Regions from separate parts of the Homo sapiens genome. Here all the other regions are linked to region 4. The links are contacts of gene promoters, found by promoter capture Hi-C in blood cells and fetal thymus (Javierre and others, 2016). All regions are on one chromosome and are shown on one strand. Each heading gives the region's core, a stretch centred on a gene start or on the middle of the fragment in contact. The rest is flanking DNA. Distances are from core to core; before and after follow the strand shown. Region 1 overlaps YES1 (YES proto-oncogene 1, Src family tyrosine kinase). Region 2 overlaps ENOSF1 (enolase superfamily member 1). Region 3 overlaps ENOSF1 (enolase superfamily member 1). Region 4 holds the start of THOC1 (THO complex subunit 1). Region 5 has its middle 5.6 kb from the start of CETN1. Region 6 overlaps YES1 (YES proto-oncogene 1, Src family tyrosine kinase). Region 7 overlaps CLUL1 (clusterin like 1).

Evidence for each region. The method cuts DNA at HindIII sites, captures the fragments that hold promoters and counts their contacts. A CHiCAGO score of 5 or more calls a contact.
Region 1: a contact is called between a fragment that was not itself captured here and the fragment with the promoter of THOC1 in region 4, in 3 of 17 cell types (total CD4 T cells, M2 macrophages and monocytes). The highest score is 6.6, in total CD4 T cells.
Region 2: a fragment that was not itself captured here is called in contact with the fragment with the promoter of THOC1 in region 4 in 1 of 17 cell types (M2 macrophages); the score reaches 5.5 in M2 macrophages.
Region 3: a contact is called between a fragment that was not itself captured here and the fragment with the promoter of THOC1 in region 4, in 2 of 17 cell types (naive CD8 T cells and naive CD4 T cells). The highest score is 6.7, in naive CD8 T cells.
Region 5: a contact is called between a fragment that was not itself captured here and the fragment with the promoter of THOC1 in region 4, in 2 of 17 cell types (M2 macrophages and M1 macrophages). The highest score is 6.9, in M2 macrophages.
Region 6: a contact is called between a fragment that was not itself captured here and the fragment with the promoter of THOC1 in region 4, in 3 of 17 cell types (endothelial precursors, naive CD8 T cells and megakaryocytes). The highest score is 5.4, in endothelial precursors.
Region 7: a contact is called between a fragment that was not itself captured here and the fragment with the promoter of THOC1 in region 4, in 14 of 17 cell types (M2 macrophages, M1 macrophages, megakaryocytes and 11 more). The highest score is 36.4, in M2 macrophages.

What each region holds. Positions count from the first base shown.
Region 1 is chr18:721,278-723,977 of GRCh38, reverse strand. YES1 (YES proto-oncogene 1, Src family tyrosine kinase) reads left to right here. Exons shown (of 12, transcript NM_005433.4): 12 at 1-2,390. Among named protein-coding and RNA genes, the nearest start is that of ENOSF1, 10 kb to the right of the region's middle. The HindIII fragment of the contact is 6,786 bases long and covers 1-2,700 here.
Region 2 is chr18:677,568-680,267 of GRCh38, reverse strand. ENOSF1 (enolase superfamily member 1) reads left to right here. Exons shown (of 16, transcript NM_017512.7): 12 at 1,531-1,572; 13 at 2,396-2,525. Among named protein-coding and RNA genes, the nearest start is that of TYMSOS, 21 kb to the right of the region's middle. The HindIII fragment of the contact is 7,224 bases long and covers 1-2,700 here.
Region 3 is chr18:702,567-705,266 of GRCh38, reverse strand. The region is part of intron 2 of ENOSF1 (enolase superfamily member 1); the gene reads left to right. Among named protein-coding and RNA genes, the nearest start is that of ENOSF1, 8.7 kb to the left of the region's middle. The HindIII fragment of the contact is 7,432 bases long and covers 1-2,700 here.
Region 4 is chr18:266,684-269,383 of GRCh38, reverse strand. It overlaps THOC1 (THO complex subunit 1), which reads left to right and starts at 1,337. Exons shown (of 21, transcript NM_005131.3): 1 at 1,337-1,418. The coding sequence starts at 1,365. RefSeq lists a silencer at 429-608 and an enhancer at 999-1,468. The HindIII fragment of the contact is 5,170 bases long and covers 1-2,700 here.
Region 5 is chr18:573,324-576,172 of GRCh38, reverse strand. No RefSeq gene overlaps it. Among named protein-coding and RNA genes, the nearest start is that of CETN1, 5.6 kb to the left of the region's middle. The HindIII fragment of the contact is 5,186 bases long and covers 1-2,849 here.
Region 6 is chr18:737,669-740,368 of GRCh38, reverse strand. YES1 (YES proto-oncogene 1, Src family tyrosine kinase) reads left to right here. Exons shown (of 12, transcript NM_005433.4): 9 at 558-634. Among named protein-coding and RNA genes, the nearest start is that of ENOSF1, 26 kb to the right of the region's middle. The HindIII fragment of the contact is 1,598 bases long and covers 607-2,204 here.
Region 7 is chr18:617,297-620,010 of GRCh38, reverse strand. CLUL1 (clusterin like 1) reads right to left here. Exons shown (of 10, transcript NM_001393344.1): 3 at 1,905-2,023; 4 at 650-798. The coding sequence starts at 2,010. Among named protein-coding and RNA genes, the nearest start is that of CLUL1, 22 kb to the right of the region's middle. The HindIII fragment of the contact is 1,675 bases long and covers 506-2,180 here.

The DNA of each region.
Region 1 (2,700 bases), core at 4-2,503, 450 kb before region 4:
TTTAAAGTTTCTTGCATTTATTATTCTCAAAAGTTTTTTCTAAGTTAAACAGTCAGTATGCAATCTTAATATATGCTTTCTTTTGCATGGACATGGGCCAGGTTTTTCAAAAGGAATATAAACAGGATCTCAAACTTGATTAAATGTTAGACCACAGAAGTGGAATTTGAAAGTATAATGCAGTACATTAATATTCATGTTCATGGAACTGAAAGAATAAGAACTTTTTCACTTCAGTCCTTTTCTGAAGAGTTTGACTTAGAATAATGAAGGTAACTAGAAAGTGAGTTAATCTTGTATGAGGTTGCATTGATTTTTTAAGGCAATATATAATTGAAACTACTGTCCAATCAAAGGGGAAATGTTTTGATCTTTAGATAGCATGCAAAGTAAGACCCAGCATTTTAAAAGCCCTTTTTAAAAACTAGACTTCGTACTGTGAGTATTGCTTATATGTCCTTATGGGGATGGGTGCCACAAATAGAAAATATGACCAGATCAGGGACTTGAATGCACTTTTGCTCATGGTGAATATAGATGAACAGAGAGGAAAATGTATTTAAAAGAAATACGAGAAAAGAAAGTGAAAGTTTTACAAGTTAGAGGGATGGAAGGTAATGTTTAATGTTGATGTCATGGAGTGACAGAATGGCTTTGCTGGCACTCAGAGCTCCTCACTTAGCTATATTCTGAGACTTTGAAGAGTTATAAAGTATAACTATAAAACTAATTTTTCTTACACACTAAATGGGTATTTGTTCAAAATAATGAAGTTATGGCTTCACATTCATTGCAGTGGGATATGGTTTTTATGTAAAACATTTTTAGAACTCCAGTTTTCAAATCATGTTTGAATCTACATTCACTTTTTTTTGTTTTCTTTTTTGAGACGGAGTCTCGCTCTGTCGCCCAGGCTGGAGTGCAGTGGCGCGATCTCGGCTCACTGCAAGCTCTGCCTCCCAGGTTCACACCATTCTCCTGCCTCAGCCTCCCGAGTAGCTGGGACTACAGGTGCCCACCACCACGCCTGGCTAGTTTTTTGTATTTTTAGTAGAGACGCAGTTTCACCGTGTTAGCCAGGATAGTCTCGATCTCCTGACCTTGTGATCTGCCCGCCTCGGCCTCCCAAAGTGCTGGGATTACAGGCGTGAGCCACCGCGCCCAGCCTACATTCACTTCTAAAGTCTATGTAATGGTGGTCATTTTTTCCCTTTTAGAATACATTAAATGGTTGATTTGGGGAGGAAAACTTATTCTGAATATTAACGGTGGTGAAAAGGGGACAGTTTTTACCCTAAAGTGCAAAAGTGAAACATACAAAATAAGACTAATTTTTAAGAGTAACTCAGTAATTTCAAAATACAGATTTGAATAGCAGCATTAGTGGTTTGAGTGTCTAGCAAAGGAAAAATTGATGAATAAAATGAAGGTCTGGTGTATATGTTTTAAAATACTCTCATATAGTCACACTTTAAATTAAGCCTTATATTAGGCCCCTCTATTTTCAGGATATAATTCTTAACTATCATTATTTACCTGATTTTAATCATCAGATTCGAAATTCTGTGCCATGGCATATATGTTCAAATTCAAACCATTTTTAAAATGTGAAGATGGACTTCATGCAAGTTGGCAGTGGTTCTGGTACTAAAAATTGTGGTTGTTTTTTCTGTTTACGTAACCTGCTTAGTATTGACACTCTCTACCAAGAGGGTCTTCCTAAGAAGAGTGCTGTCATTATTTCCTCTTATCAACAACTTGTGACATGAGATTTTTTAAGGGCTTTATGTGAACTATGATATTGTAATTTTTCTAAGCATATTCAAAAGGGTGACAAAATTACGTTTATGTACTAAATCTAATCAGGAAAGTAAGGCAGGAAAAGTTGATGGTATTCATTAGGTTTTAACTGAATGGAGCAGTTCCTTATATAATAACAATTGTATAGTAGGGATAAAACACTAACTTAATGTGTATTCATTTTAAATTGTTCTGTATTTTTAAATTGCCAAGAAAAACAACTTTGTAAATTTGGAGATATTTTCCAACAGCTTTTCGTCTTCAGTGTCTTAATGTGGAAGTTAACCCTTACCAAAAAAGGAAGTTGGCAAAAACAGCCTTCTAGCACACTTTTTTAAATGAATAATGGTAGCCTAAACTTAATATTTTTATAAAGTATTGTAATATTGTTTTGTGGATAATTGAAATAAAAAGTTCTCATTGAATGCACCTATTAATCGTTTTAGTTGCTATTCATATTCTCATTCGTTTTTTAAAAACTGATATATTCTGAATTTATTCTTCCATTGAGAAAAAAATGTTCAGTTACTTGTAACTACTGAGCAGAATTTAATCAATCCTTTATTAAATTCAGAACATTATTGAACTCATTCTTTGTGGTCAATTTTCTTTTTTTTTTGTTTTGTTTTGTTTTTTTTTTGAGACGGAGTCTCGCTCTGTCGCCCAGGCTGGAGTGCAGTGGCGCGATCTTGGCTCACTGCAAGCTCCGCCTCCCGGGGTCACGCCATTCTCCTGCCTCGGCCACCCGAGTAGCTGGGACTACAGGCGCCTGCTACCACGCCCGGCTAATTTTTTGTATTTTTTAGTAGAGACGGGGTTTCACCATGTTAGCCAGGATGGTCTCGATCTCCTGACCTCGTGATCCGTCCGCTTCGGCCTCCCAAAGTGCTGGGATTACAG
Region 2 (2,700 bases), core at 175-2,674, 410 kb before region 4:
ACTAAGGCCTTCTGCAGATGAGGAGGCCGAGGCTTTGGGTGGCACAGGCGGGGCTTGCCCAAGGCCACACATCCCGTGAGATGCGGGGCCAGCACCGGAATCAGGGATACTTGGCTGCTGAGTGAAGGGATTTTTCTGCTGAGAAGTTGGCTTAGTCTGATTATTCAGATGCCTCCTCTGGCTCTGGAATCAGTGGAGTTCCAACCCAGTCTCTACCACTTTCTAGCTTTGTGATCCAGGAACAGTTCAAACCCGGCACACAGTTTTATCATTTTTTATAAAATGGGGATAACGCTGGCTCCTCTCCCATTGGATTGAGACCAGGAATCATTTAAGTCAGTGTTTTGCACAGCACCTGACAGGTACTCAGAGCTCCAAAAATGTTAGCTGTCAGTGTGATTACTATTACCCTAAGCAAAGGGAAGGGAAGCCAGGGAGGAACCAAGGCTACCTGTGCGGAGTAGCTGTGGAGTCGCAGTCACAGTAGAGGATGGATGGGAGCGCCCAGAGTCCAGGTGGCAGGTGACGGAGGTAGTGTTCAGGGGCCAGGTGAGAGGACAGAGAGCAGCAGGGCTGTGTTCAGGTGCAGAGTCCAGTACCTCACCAGGTGAGGACTCTACCAGGTGAGCAATGGTCTCAGCCTAACCTGCAGATTGAGGTCTGAGGCCACCCACTGAGCTGGAAGGAAGAGGATTTTTTTTTTTTTCATGGATTTTTCCTGCCTTAAGGAAGAGGATTTTGGAATCAACAAAGACATGAGGCCAGGTGCAGTGGCTCACACCTGTAATCCCAACACTTTGGGAGGCCGAGGCGGGAGGATCATCTGAGGTCAGGAGTTTGAGACCAGCCTGGCCAACATGGCAAAACCCTGACTCTATTAAAAATACAAAAATTAGCCAGCATGGTGGCGTGCACCTCTAATCCCAGCTACTCAGGAGGCTGAGGCACGAGAATCGCTTCAGCCTGGGGGGTGGAGGTTGCGGTGAGCTAAGATCATGCCACTGCACTCCAGCTTGGGTGACAGAGCAAGACTCGGTCTCAAAAAAAAAAAAAAAAAAAGATATGAGAGGGTTCTAGAAGGAGGTTTCTCAGGGAGGCAAGAAGAAGGGAATTGATGGAGTGATGACCCACAGGAAGGAGTCGTCCAAAGGTTGGACCCTGTGAGTCCACAATGAGCCACTCCGAATAGCCCTGTCCTTATGCCACTGCGCAGGCTGGAGAGGGAGGTGCTGTCCACGTTGGGAGGAGCGCAGCTGGAGCATGGGCCGGGACACCGCAGAAGGAGATCTGCAGAGCCCTGGTCAGGAACGGGGCTGGTGGTGGCAGCTCAGCAGTGCTCACCTTCTCCTCTGCAGATACACAGAGCCCTCCCGCACGCATGTGTTCCCCTGGACATCCTTTGCCAGTCTTGAGCCTTCACATGGCTTAACAGCAGGGCCGTTTCCTCCTTCAGCTATAAATGTTTTTAAACATTAGGAGTTGCAGTTCAAAACTTAGGAAAATAACACCAGGCTGCCTTCTATTTTATAGGCACTGGTCCCATTAGGAATTGGCATTGCCACAGGAGAACAGGTGAGTGACGCCCCCAACAGGTGGATGACGTCCCCTTGGGGTCAGTACACGCTGACCAGTGACCGAGGACACAGTTGTGTGTTAGGCTCCATCACCTGCTGTACTTTGAGTTGGGAAATTTTCATCATCTTAGAAACTGGGTCATTTTATCAGAGTCTAGAGTCAGATATAGAAAAAGTTTGTGGCTATTTCTCCAATTTATATGACTAAGGTCGGGTATCTTTTTCAAAGTGTCTAATTGAAATTGAAAAGGCAGCAATTTAAAGTTGCTATTGCAAGGGCAGAAAATGGTCTTAAGAAAGCCAGCTTTCAAATTGAATAAACATGACTGCGTTCACTTTTTGAGCTTATAAATGAAGCCCGAGTGCCTGCCAAAACCTGCTGCAGTCAGCCCACGAGCAGAGCAGCGTGAGGAGCTGATTCTCAGTTTTCCCGGCAAAAGGAGCAATACTGCTCTGCCGTGGTTCCGTGTTGTCATCTGTGCCACCTGCTCATCACTGTCACCGTATTTCATCCTGATGCTTCATCTCCCACTTATCAGTCGCTGTGACAGTCATTCCCTCATAAATGGCGAGCCAGTGTGATTTTGACCTGACTCACACTGTTGCATTAGCAGATTTGTAAAGAAGTGAGCACAAGGTCCCTGCCCACGCTATAAAAGCTCGCCTCATGCCCAGCGAGAACAAAGAAGAAATACAGTCTGGGCTTCCTGACGGCCACTGATGAATAATTATTGGCATAGAGTGGCTGCGTTGCCAGGTTTAGAGATCCTGAAGGCCAAGGCTGACTCTTCTGTTGGTGTTATTTTCAATTCTATTTCCAGTGCCACAATAGAGTGATATTTAAGCAACTCCTACAGGCGAAGGCCCTGCAGTTCCTCCAGATTGACAGTTGCAGACTGGGCAGTGTCAATGAGAACCTCTCAGTATTGCTGATGGCCAAAAAGTTTGAAAGTAAGCGTGCTGCAGCGGCTGCAGACCAGACCTTCATTTCCCCACTAATCAGACACCTCCCTTGATGGTTTGCAATTCACATGCATGGGAGTCTGTAGTTTGCCATTTCGATTTTTTTCTAACTCTCATTTAGCTTTAATCCGGGAATTTTTGATGATTTTCATCTTGGAATTTC
Region 3 (2,700 bases), core at 194-2,693, 440 kb before region 4:
AGATTGAAGGGTAAGGGTCTAGAAGGAGGGAAAAGAGTTTCTCTAACTTCGGTGGTAGTGTGATACCTCTCCCTTGGATATTTGCACCATCAGCGCTCTCAGTAGTTGTAGAAAAAAATCTTGGCCCATTGAGAGATTTTAAATTGTTAAGCATATAAAAGAAGTGTGTGAGTTTGTGAGTGTGTGTATGTGCGAATGGCAAGGGAACCTTCCTTGAACTTTCAATGGACACTGCCCAGGTGGCTGCTGTTACTGCTCTTCACAGGGCTGGCGGTCAGTTGTCCAGCAAGTCAGTCCTTCTGCAGACTTCTGAGTGCTGCCATGTATCAGGCACCAAAGTAATTTTAAAAAGAGAAAGATAGGCCAGGCGTGGTGATTCAGGCCTGTAATCCCAGCACTTTGGGAGGCTGAGGCGGGCAGATTGCTTGAGTCAAGCAGTTCAAGACCAGCCTGGTCAACATGGTGAAACCCTGTCTTTACTAAAAATACAAAAATTACCTGGCCGTGGTGATGCATGGCTGTAATCTCAGCTACTCAGGAGGCTGAAGCACGAGAATTGCTTGAACCTGGGAGTTGGAGTTTGCAGTGAGCCGAGATTGCGCCGCTGCACTCCAGCCTGGGTGAAAAAGCGAGACTCCATCCCAAAAAAAAAAAGAAAAAAGATACAGAAGACAGAATCCCACATACAAGGAGCACACGAACTTATTGGGGAAGTAGACATAAAAGAAATGATCATAGTGCAGTCTGAGAATTACTGTTTTTTAAAACTATGTACAAGTTTTACAGAGAGAGGATATATTAGGCTGTTCTTTTTTTTTTTTTTTTTCTTTTCTTTTTGGAAACAAGAGTCTTGCTCTGTTGCCCAGCCTGGAGTGCAGTGGCGCAATCTCGCTCACTACAACCTCCACCTCCCGGGTTCAAGCAATTCTTATGCCTCAGCCTCCCGAGTAGCTGGGATTACAGGCACACACCACCACGCCCGGCTAGTTTTTATATTTTTAGTAAAGATGAGGTTTCACCATGTTTGGTCAGGCCGGTCTCCTGACTTCAAATGATCTGCCCACCTTGGCCTCTCAAAGTGCTAAGATTATAGGCATGAACCACCACTCTGAGCCAGGCTATTTTTGCATTGCTATAAAGGAGTACGAGAGACTGGATAATTTATAAAGAAAAAGAGGTTTAATTGCCTCATGGTTCTGCAGGTTTTACAGAAAGCATGATGCCAGCTACTCAGCTTCTAGGGAGGCTTCAGGACACTTACAATCATGGTAGAAGGTGAAGGGGGAGCAGGCACGTCCTATGTCGAAAGGATCAAGAGAAAGGGAATGGGGAGGTGCTACACACTTTTAAGTCACCAGATCTCACGAGAACTCACTCACTATCTCAAAGACAGTACCAATGGGATAGTGCTAAACCATTCAGGAGAAATCCACCTCCAAGATCTAATAATCACCTCCCACCAGGCCCCACCTCCAACACTGCGGATTACACTTCAACATGAAATTTGTGCAGAATGTCTAAACCATCTCAGGGGGTAACTTCACTCTGTCCAAAAGGCTCAGGGAAGGCTTCAGAGCAGAAGTAATGCTTTGAGGTGAGTCTCGAAGAGCAAACAGGAATTTGCCAGGCAGAGAAAGACCATGCTGTGAGTCAGTCCCGCTTTTCTCCATTAAGTAAACAATTTACTGTTAAAGTTTTCCCCAGAGTAGTAACCACTTACTAAGACAGAGCTGTGAGCTGTTTCTGCTTCTTCTGCAACTCTAATTGTCCCTTGTTTGTAAGTTGAGTACTTTATGAAGCCGCTGCCTTTCTCCATACTGCAAACCCTACAGCACAGCCCCCAAAGGTTGCATAAAACTCAGCGAGCTTACAAGATAATGTTAGGCCATTGGACCCACTCTCTGTTAACAGCCCAGACTTTAAACTTTGCTGACTTGGGCACACGTGGAGGGGCCCTGGGCACTAAGATAGATAAGAAGCCCTTCTGGGATGGGTGCTGAGCTCAGTGTTTAGGGCCTTCACTTCCCCTCTCCTCCTCCATTCCCAGCCCCACACCGCTGTCTTGGTGGATGTCTCAGGCACGGATAAATCAACTTCCATCTCTCCATGACTTTAATTAATGACTCTTTTGTGCTAAGGGTTTTGGCTTCCTCCTTTTTCAGACCACAACATGACAGAACCCATTTTAACTTTAACCTTGCTACATATTTCAGGTGACTCACTGCAGTCTCACTAAATGTGTTACACAGCACTCACACTAAAGATGAAAAATTCCATTAGCTCATCCTGGTTCTTCTGCTTACTTACCTAATCATCTGTTTATGATTTAAAAAAATAGGGTTACTGTGAAGAGAGTGCTTGTGTGTGAGACAGAGAGGGAGGGTTGTTTTTCAAATGTATAGAATATACCAATGTAGTTTTTGGTTGGGTATTTTTTTAAATCATGACTTTATTAAATTTACTTAATTAATATTCATTTTTATCCTTTTTTTATGTTTTTAAAGTTTTTATTATTTATTAATTTATTTGAGATAAGGTCTTGCTCTGTCACCCAGGCTGGAGTGCAGTGGTGCAATCACGGCTCATACAGCCTTGACCTTCCAGACTCAAATGATTGTCCCACCTCACCTTCCCGAGTAGCTGGGCCCACAGGCACAAGCCACCATGCCTAGCTAATGTTTCTTTTTTTTGAGAGACAGA
Region 4 (2,700 bases), core at 88-2,587:
CTCTTGTCGCCCAGGCTGGAGTGCAATGGCACGATCTCCGCTCACTGCAACCTCCGCCTGCCGGGTTCAAACCATTCTCCTGCCTCGGCCTCCTGAGTAGCTGGGATTACAGGTGCGTGCCACCACGCCCGGCTAATTTTTGTATTTTTAGTAGAGACAGCGTTTCACCATGTTTGCCATACCTCAGGTGATCCACTCCTGACCTCAGGTGACCCACCTGCTTCGGCGTCCCAAAGTGCTGGGATTACAGGCGTAAGCCACCGCGCCTGGCCTCTATTTTAACTTTATGGCCAGTCAGCTATCTCCTCTAAATCACAAAAGGGAGAGGGTATAACCAGGTCCGTCTGACCTCCCATCCCGTTATGACTGGGAACTCAGTTGTTAAGATTTTGCTGGTGTCCCCTTGGCCTCACGGGGGTCTGTTCAGTTGTTGGGGGGCTTAGGATTTTAAATTTACAGACTTCGAAGAAGGGAACAAGATACACGTGTGAGGGAATAAGAGGAAGTTACCCGAGTCTGAGTCAGTGCTTCCTTCTCCACCGTGTAACTCCAACTTAGAGTTACTGCCACTCGGCTTCTATCGGCCACGTCTCTCCTGGGAAGGCAGGCAAGGGACGAAATGGAGGGAGACAAGGTTTTCGCTAGGGAAGCCTCGGCCCAGGACGCAGCGCCACCCGTTTTCCAATCAGCGCCGGGCACTGCATTCCTCCTAGGTCTCTTTCTTTCAGTAGAGACCTTTTAATAATAAATACTACTTACATTGCTTTACAGTTCACACTTGCGGTCATTATTTCAGTGGAGCTTTTCAACAGCTCTGTGAGACAGGTATTATTTCTATTTCGGAGCAGAGAGAACAGCGCCCTTGAGCCACAGGGCTCATACATCCGGAGCCTATCACCACTCCGCATCTTAAGCTCCCGGGATGACCGCGGACTGGCGGCCCAGGACCACTGCTCCAGCTGTTTCCCCAGGTAATCCACCTGCCTTGGGTTACCTTTTAGCGCGGCCCAGTTAGCCGCAACCAGCCACCATTTACCCGCTTTCCCCAAACCAGGAAAACCACAGAAACGCATGTGCGCGGCCAGTCTCTTCCACGCCCGGGAACGCAGAGCTTACAGACCAAGGCCGCCCAAGTCCCCTCACCCCAAAGGCTACCCAAGAACCCCGAGTAGGCTGTTTGGCTGACTCAGGCGCCCAACGCCCACCCGAACTGAGTCGCTAGGGAAACTCCCAACTGCCAGCTCGCCCGACCGGTGTTCACAGGCCACTCTAGCCGGGCTCAGAGAGACCGCAGTCTCGTTGCTCCTGGCTTGACGTCATCGGCAGGCGCCGCAGCGCAGTGGCGGGCACGCGCAGCCGAGAAGATGTCTCCGACGCCGCCGCTCTTCAGTTTGCCCGAAGCGCGGACGCGGTTTACGGTGAGCTGTAGAGGGGAGGGTGCAGGCCTGACCCGGCGCTATGCTTTGTCCTCTTCTCCCTGAAATTACTCGAATTTTGCCCTGGGGTAAAGTGAGACAGAGGTGTGTCCGCCTCAGCGTCCGCTCCGGGCCCCGTCGGAGGTTGAGGGGTAGGGAAAGACGCACTACCCGCCTCTTCTTTGTGGGCTGGGCCGTCCGCCTCCGCCCACCCTCCAGCGGGTCCCCGGACTGCGTGCTGGGCGCCTCGGCTCCCCGCTTGGAGTGCCCACCTGCAGACTACTGCTGGTTGGGTCCATCCTCTCAGCTCGTTTAGTGGGGCAGGTGTCTCGAGAAGGGGAAGGGGAGCTGCTGAAGGGGGAGGGTGGGAGTGGTTTCAGTCCAAAGACCTGGCTCCCGCCCTAGCCTTCTGAGCTACCAAGTGCTTGTTCCCGCCGTCTCTTCACCACCCCTTAACCCACCGTGTCTAACTCCTAAGCGATCGATGAGATCCTAAGCGGGAAAAGGCAGATAGATCACCTTGGGAAGGGTAACCAGATGCTATTTTATTCTTGCTCAATGTGGAAGGGTGGTTTTGAGCATTTGGGAAACACTTGACAGATCACTTTCTCATTTAACTATTAGAGTAACACTGTGAAGTAGGCTAAGTTGGTTATTCCTGGTACATGAGGTAGAAGCTGACACCCCCCAAAAAGTTGTGACTTCAGTGGTTTTTCTGACTTTAGACACTCTGTTCTTTTTATGTTGCTCGTCACAGCAACGTAAGTATGAAGAACACTTTTAAGTTGCCTGACTCTATTCGTCTCTAGCATTTGCACCAACATTTCTCAGATATTCGGCTGTGTTTTGGTAGTTATAGGGATGCCAGGATGAAAATTGTGTGAAAGAAAAATTCATCCTTTGTAGTAAGTAGTTTTCTTGTTTGCAGGGTTATATATATATATATATACATATATATACGTATACGTATAATATATATATACACACACACACAGTGTGAGGTTTTTTTTAAATGGATTATATTTTGTGTATGTCATCATAATCATTTTCTTTGTGTGCGTTTTGCTGCAATCTCTGGTGCTTTGAAAGCCTGCTAAGAGTAACTGTTAGGACTATCCAAGATCATATTGGCGGCCGGGCGCAGTGGCTCACGCCTGTAAATGCAGTACTTCGGGAGGCCGAGGCGGGCGGATCACCTGAGGTCAAGAGTTCAAGGCCAGCCTGGCCAACATGGCAAAGCCCCGTCTCTACTAAAAATACGAAAATTAGCCAGGCGTGGTGGTGG
Region 5 (2,849 bases), core at 54-2,553, 310 kb before region 4:
CTGGGATTACAGGCGTGAGCCACCGGGCCCGGCCGCTTATTTCCTTCTTACTGTGCATGTGCTAAAAATAGAGGGGAGGTGGAGCCCCCAGGGTGGACATTCCTGGCCCCAGGTACCTCTTTCTAACTGTGCAGCTTCTGGCATCCCCTCGTGCAAGTTTCCAGCTTCCTTATCTATGTTTGCAGCCCGATCTCCCAGGCTGCTCTTTGTTAGAAAAGAAGGGATTTCTTGGGCTGTTCTTTGTTAGCAGGGAAGTTCTGCCGAGGACTCTTTTGCCCTCATTATCTGCTTAAAATAATTTCTGTCTCCAGTATCACTTGCCTTATGTTCCTGCTCTAAAGCGTTTTAATAAACGCTCTGAAACTTGCCTCAGTCTCTTTTTCTGCCGTATGACCCTGAGTTGAATTCTTTCTTCTGAGGATGTAGGAATTGAGGTTGCTGCAGACCCATACGGATTCTATTAAGGTAACTTGGATATTCGCTACTAGTGATACATTTTGGTGCCACGTGACTCGGATACCTTCTGCTGCTAACAATTTTCTTCCCTACACATAACAATAATTAAGCATCTTGCCTAGAAGGATTGAACAGGAATTTGTAGGATCTAAGACAGGGTCCCATTCTGGGGCGAGTCACTGAACCTGCAATATGCTTAGTATTTACATCTGTTCTTCCTCCATTCCACTTCACCCCATTCCCTGCTTTCAACTCTGTATATGAGCTGGGGAAAGCAATCTGGGCAAAATGCCTTTGCTTGGCATTAGTGAAAGTCTATACAAGGCATGTGAAAATCAGCTTTATTACTTTAAAAGTAATTTTTAAGTTCTAGTGAGACTGACATAAAATAAACGAGACATCCTAGAAAATCAGTGGAGATGGGCGGGTTTCTGTTTGTTTTTGGGTTTTTGGGGGGCCCTCAATTTTTTTTTTTTTTTGTACCACAATGTCCTAAGTATTATGCAAAATCAGTGATTGATTCTCTGAGAGGGGGAGAGGAGATGGTTGTTTAAGTCCAGTCATGGAGACTTAACAGCTGGAAGAGGGGAGAAAAGAAGCACTGGAATTCCACAACAGGGTCTGGAGTCCGTTGAGACCAAGAGAAAGGACTCACAGCTTGCTTATGCTGATTATTTGGTTTTCCATTTGACTTGCATGGCATGAAAAAGGTGCGGCTCAGGAGCCTTTTAAAGTTGCACTCAGCAAATTCAGCAAATTCCAGGTGCCACCCAAGGCAGAAAACATGCACAATACAGCTTCTTTACTGCTGCTTATTTACTTTCCAACAAATGCAGAACAGAGAAAATGTGAATGCTGGGTGCTGCTCCTACAAACCAGGATAACTGTGCTGGGGCTGTAGAGGGGGATCCCAAAACCATCACTAACAGAGCTGAATTATTTATTCTTAAATATGTGGAGCCAGTTACAAGAAATGGACTCAGCAGCAAAAGGTTTTACAGTCCCAGTGGTCTCTGAATGGGAATTTGAAGTCAAGTCCAGTGACTCAACCCAAGTCTTTTTGGCAAGTCCAGGAACACATTTAAGTGTCCAGCCAAGGGCTACATGATTCCTTATTCCATGAACACCCGAAATAAGAAAATACTCCTCTCAGATACAAAAGCAGACTTTTCTAAAAAGATTTGCCAGAATTTCACACGGTTTCTCAAACTTTCACCCAAATATTCCTAATAGCAAAGGAGAGTTGAAAGCTATCCCCTGAGATACAGGGAACTATTTGAAAGAAACCTGCAAAAAGCATCAAATGTCTTTATAATCCTGTGTTTCAGCTTTTTAAAAAGTGAATGTTGCTTTCTGTTTCATAGTGCATTTGCTGGTTCTATGATAGTTTTAAATGACTGACCATTCCAAAAAAGTACACATTGCTTATTTTATGACTTTAAATGGTCTCCAAGGACATGACCGGGGTTGCAGAACCTTATATGTTTTAGCAAACACGGATGTGGGATTTAATGTGGGGCTTGAGGTGAATAAAATAAAGATCTACAATGTTTCTCACCCCTACCCAACCCCTATCTGCTCCACTTATACCCCATTTGGGTTTGGGAGTCAAAGAAGGGAAAGGATGGAAAAGTGTGAGGAGGAAGGGAAGGAAGAATGAAACTCCAGGGCATTTTGAACTTGTTAGGTGGAGTAAAATTAAATGCATCCAGTGAAAGAATGACTGCCCTCTCCCCTTCTTTCCCAGATCCCAGATCAGCCCCCAATTAAGCATTGCTTTGATGGAAACAGGCTGAGAAAAGACAAGATCTATGTTGACATAAACTCCAAGCAGAACCTCATGGGGTTTGCAATTCGGCAGTTGTCCCACCCTGTAAGTGGTCTTCAGAGCGCCCACCAGGTGCAGGCATCCACAGAAAATGCAGAACCAGGAGGCCCAGGAGTGGCTTCATTGGATTTTTAAATCTCATTTTAAACCAATAGCTCATAGACTGAGCTATTGGTTACTCTTTGATCCACCTTTTCTTCTCCAAGGGCCCTGGAACGTCAGGATCTAAAGCTGGCTCTGAGGCTGTTAACTGAGAATTTTTCACTCACCAGAGGTTGAAAGGTCAGAAGCCCACAGTGGTGTTAGGTAACACAGAATAAGCCAAATGGGCTGCCTGTGAAGGGTGGATTTAGGGATTAACAGTGACCTGGAGAGTTTGTGCCCTTTTTAAAGACACTGACATTCAAATTTTAAAAAAAAGAAAGAAAGAAAGGAAAAAAAGAAAACTGTGCAGTTCCAAGAACACAGGTGAAGCAGAACTTGGCCTATAGGGTGCACATTATCCACCCAGCCCTTGCAGTGGCCACCTCTTCTGCTGAGGTTCAAGCAGTAAGGACACTTCTCA
Region 6 (2,700 bases), core at 156-2,655, 470 kb before region 4:
TGTGCCTTAATTTGGTTTTGTGTGATGTTTTCTCTTGATTATAAGCCTTAACAAATAATAGTGAAGCCGTAATCAGACTTCTAGCCTTTTTCTTTGCTGTTATTCATAGTACTTTGTAGTTTTCAGAGAGAGAGCTTGGTCACAGCAGTAGTTCCACAGCGACTCATTTAGCTACCTATATTTAGTTTTAACCACACCCAAGATATTCCTAGTTGTCTGAATTCTTGATTCAGATTTACTTAAAAATATGTAAGTATTTAATACTACTTTTTGAATCAGAATTGGGATATTGATCAAAGCGAGGAAAAAATGCCTCTTGTCAGGTAAAGTTAATGCATTTTCTTTTTTTGCATGTGTTATCAGAAGTTTTCAAAATTTCAGCTTAGAGACCTCTTCTAGGACCTAGATAATTATTTGGAAACTGCAAAACTGCACAAAATTTAAAAAAAATGAAAAGCTAAGAAGTTTTGTGTTGTGATTTGGGGTGGAGGAGTATTCATTTCAATCCTAATATAAGATTTGCTTATTTTTTATGAATATCTTGCTGTCTGTTACAGGAAGCTTATTAGATTTCCTTAAGGAAGGAGATGGAAAGTATTTGAAGCTTCCACAGCTGGTTGATATGGCTGCTCAGGTATCTGTATATATACATGTATCCATTTGAATTAAAAGTGTAAATTAAAATGTGGAATAATCTTACCAGAATATTATAGTATGTGTAGTGAAATGGTGGGATTTTATTTTTATTTTTTATTTTTTAGAGACAGCGTCTCATTCTGTCACCCAGGGTGGAATGCAGTGGTGCACTGATAGCTCCGTGCTTGAAGAGCCTTGAATTCTTGGGCTCTAGCAATCCTCTCGCCTCAGCCTCCTGGGTAGCTAGGACTGCAGGCACAGGCCACCATTCCCAGCTAATTTAAAAAATTATTTTTTTTGTAGACACAGGGATCTCTCTGTGTTGCTTAGGCTAGTCTCAAAGTCCTTGGCTCAAAGGATCCTCCCACCTCAGCCTCCCAAAGTATTGGGATTACCTGGCCAATAATGGAATTTTAGAACTGGCAGGAACGTCAGAGATAATCCAATGTGAGCTCTTAATGATACAGATTAATGAAGTATCAAAAGATGAGAGGTATCTAAAATTCACAAAACTTGTTAGTAACAGAACGAGTATTAGAACCAGCTATCTAACTCTTAGTCCAGTGGTGTCCTGTATCATACGGTTTCTTAGAAAATAGATGTTTCCAGGCCAGGTGCGGTGGCTCACGCTTGTAATCTGAGCACTTTGAGAGGCCGAGGTGGGTGGGTCACTTGAGGTCAGGAGTTCGAGACCAGCCTGGCCAACATGGTGAAACTCTGTCTCTACTAAAAATACTGAAAATTAGCCAGGCGTGGTGGCGGGCGCCTGTAATCCCAGCTACTCAGGAGGCTGAGGCAGGAGAATCGCTTGAACCCGGGAGGCGGAGGTTGGAGTGAGCCAAGATCTCGCCATTGCACTCCAGCCTGAGCAACAAGAGCGAGACTCCATCTCAAGAAAATAGATGTTTCCACAAATGTAAAGTCTATATGTATTTATATTTCAACAGATAATTTTAAGAAAATTAAAATGGATGAGGGCTGTTCCAAAGAAAATATTAGTAATCTAAAGTGTATGCTGAATTTTTTTTTTTTTTTTTTTTTTGAGATGGGAGTCTCGCTCTGTCACCCAGGCTGGAATGCAGTGGTGCAATCTCGGCTCACTGCAAGCTCCATCTCCCAGGTTCACACAATTCTCCCGCCTCAGCCTCCCGAGTAACTGGGACTACAGGCGCCCACCACCACCCCCAGCCAATCTTTTGTATTTTTAGTAGGGACGGGGTTTCACCGTGTTCGCCAGGATGGTCTTGATCTCCTGACCTCGTGATCTGCCCGCCTCGGCCTCCCAAAGTGCTGGGATTACAGGCGTGAGCCACTGCACCTGGCCTGAATTTGTTATTTACTATAGTCCAACACAAGAATTAAGATGGTATATATACAGTTTAAAATGGGACTTTTTTACTCTTCTGACTTTTTGTTTTAAATATATAGTGAAAACTGTTAAAAGTTTCTCTTCAGATATGTGGTAGGTATTTGAGAGGCCTTATTATTGGCTTTGGTTGACATGCTGGTTTTGGAATCTTACCTCCTAGCCTCCAAATGTCCACAGAATCTGACAATTCAGAAAAGCTTTATACTGAGAAACTATACATAGGCAACAGGCATATGCCACGCCAGTTCATGCTTCTGAGTTAGACACTCTATGGTAGGGGAGGTTGGCAATCCATTTTTGTTTTTTAAAAAAAAAAAAAAATTAGGTTTTGTGAGCCACATCCAATCTGTCATACTTTTTTCTTTTTACAACCCTTTAAAAATGTAAAAACCAGGCTGTGCGAGATGGCTCCTATAATCTCGCTTTGCGGGGCCTGGGCAACATAGTGAAACCCCATCTCTACAAAAAAATACAAACATTAGCTGGGTGTGGTGTCGCATGCCTAAGTCCCAGCTACTCACTAGGCTGAGGTGGGAAAATTGCTTGAGCCCAGAAGATAGAGATTGCAGTGAGCCACGATTGCACCACTGCACGCCAACCTGCGTGACAGAGTGAGACCCCGTCTCAGTCAATCAATCAAAATGTAAAAAACAGTTTTAGTTCTCTGGCTGTGCAAAAACAGGCTGCAGGCCACT
Region 7 (2,714 bases), core at 94-2,593, 350 kb before region 4:
GGGCCAGGCACGGTGGTCCATGCCTGTAATTCCAGCACTTTGGGAGGCTGAGGCAGGTGGATCACTTGAGCCCCAGAGTTCGGGACCAGCCTGGCCAGCATGGTGAAACCCCGTCTCTTCTAAAAATACAAAAATTAGCCAGGCGTGGTGGTAGGAGCCTGTAATCCCAGCTACTAGGGAGGCTGAGACAGGAGAATCACCTGAACCCAGGAGGTGGAGGTTGCAATGAGCGGGATCAACTCCAGCCTGGGTGACAGAGCGAGACTCTGTCTCAAAAACAGAAACAAACAAAAAACAAAAAACAAAAACTCTGGAGACCACTGATCTAGTAAAAAAAAAAACTCTTCAAATACTTTTGACTCAATATCCTAACTCAGAAGAGACCAAGAATAATCTATTTTTGAGAAAGCAGCACTTAAACAGAGATGAATCCCCCAGATTCCGGGTTGGAGTCTTGCAGAAGCCTATCCTACACGAAATATGTTCTTCAAGGAAATCTGAAGCTTCCCTTAAACTTTTCCTCAAATAAAAGCAGCTACCCATGAAATTTATTACTAAGGAAAATAAGTAATTCATCAATCGCACTAACAAGTGCAGTATTTCTGGTCCAGATCTGTGTAAGAACAGACATTATTTTCAATGACTGTACCTGCTTTTCTTCTCTGCATTTCTTCAGGGTGCTCATTAGATTGGTGTGTTCCTTCTCTTTTCTTTCCATCATGATTTTCATTTGCTTAATACCAGTCAAAGCCTTCTTCACCTCTTCATCTGCATCTATCTCCCCCACCTCAGAAAAACCTAAAAGACATGTGGCAATTTTTTCTTTGAGATCTGATCAGATTACAAAACACCAAGTTCACCAACCTTTCATGTCTCCAAAAGAGAGGCTTAATTGTTCTCTTATAGGCTCATATTCTGAAAGCAGATCATAATGAATTAGCTGTCAGCTGCCACATGGACCCAGCTGCCACACGGACCATACCTTCTACTCCTCACTTGTGAGCGCCTAAACAAATAGAGTTCACTGAACCTCATTCTTGTCATCTTGCTCAGGCCCTGTTTTCATTTATCCATTTTTTTTCTTTCATTTAAGACTCAAGTGTGTTTATATTAGAGAAAATTTTGCATTTTCTTCATAATTTATATTAAGTGCCCAGCTGGGGACCTCAAACACAGTCAGCAATTTCTCTTTCTTTCAGCTTCAGTTACCTAATAAGGAGGCACGAGACCTAGAAAGTATCCCATGTAATACGAGCTTCCTTAATAACTCAATGGACGTGTCTTATACACCTTTAATAAGCCCTTAGTAAGTTTAAAATTCATTGTCATTCCCTGTTCAAAATAGCCAACGTGGCCTACTGAGGAGCTCATTCTTGACTCTGATTATTACAGACCCCAAATCAGCTGCATTTTAGCTAATTTGTTCTTCTATATATTAAGTACCCAAAGTATATATCACCAAGCAAAGTTGCAAGTTAATGGCCACAGAACAACCAGATTCAACGTAATTATAACCCATTCTTTCACTAGTTTAAGAACAATTGCACAGATTACTCTAATGGTTTAAATTTTTCAAATGCTAGAAAAGTATTTCACTGTTCATTAGAGCTGTGCTGAGATGACACCAACCATCTGGATGATACAAAAAAATGCAGTGAAAAAACTGGCAAGTTGTATCTACATGATACAAACATCTGGAAAGGTGAACGCCTGCAGAGACGTGATTGGAATTTTCTATTTTTACCCAGATGTTTGGCGTCAGGATGACCTGGTTTAAGCGCCTTGAGAACGTTTCACCGTGAAAACAGCGAATATGGTTATCTCTCAACTGCGACTCACTATAAACGCCAGCAGGACAACCAACATGCAAACAGGACACAGCACAGATAAGAAACCAAACGTACTCTTCAGGTTTTCACTGATAGCAGTTTTGTCCTTCCAAGTGGGTGCGCAGTGACTGTCTTTCAACCACAGCAGACACACAATAAACACCAAGAGTGGCGGCTTCATGTTCCCGCTGTTACTGCAAAGGAAAAATAAACCCGCATCAAATGTCTTCCATTTGGTTAGTTTCTGTTGGCATCAATTGAAAACACCTGGGGCTCCAAAGCATTTTTCTGTCAATTTTTCCTTATGACTTTAGACAACTTATGCTAATGTGCCTGAGACATAAGGAAGCTTGAAATGTAAGTTAAAAAAACAAACAAATTCTAGTCCCTATTTGGTTTAAACTCTTCACGACAGTTAAAAAAGCCCGCCATGTGAAGTACTTGAAACTCAATGCAATGGAGAGGATAGATCACATCCTCTCAGAGTCCAAGCTTCATTTTGTAAACATCTCGAAACACAGAATTAATTCGAATCTGTTAGAGGGATTTTTTTCCCTCCAAAATTCTTTTTTTTTTTTTTTTTTTTGAGACGGAGTTTTGCTCTTGTTGCCCAGGCTGGAGTGCAATGGCGTGATCTCGGCCCACCGCAACCTCCACCTCCCAGGTTCAAGTGATTCTCCTGCCTCAGCCTTCCCAAGTAGCTGGGATTATAGGCATGCGCCACCAAGCCCGGTTAATTTTGTATTTTTAGTAGAGATGGAGTTTCTCCATGTGGGTCAGGCTGGTCTCGAACTACTGACCTCAGGTGATCCGCCCCCCTCGGCCTCCCAAAGTGCTGGGATTACAGGCGTGAGCCACCACACCTGGCATTTCCCTCCAAAAGTC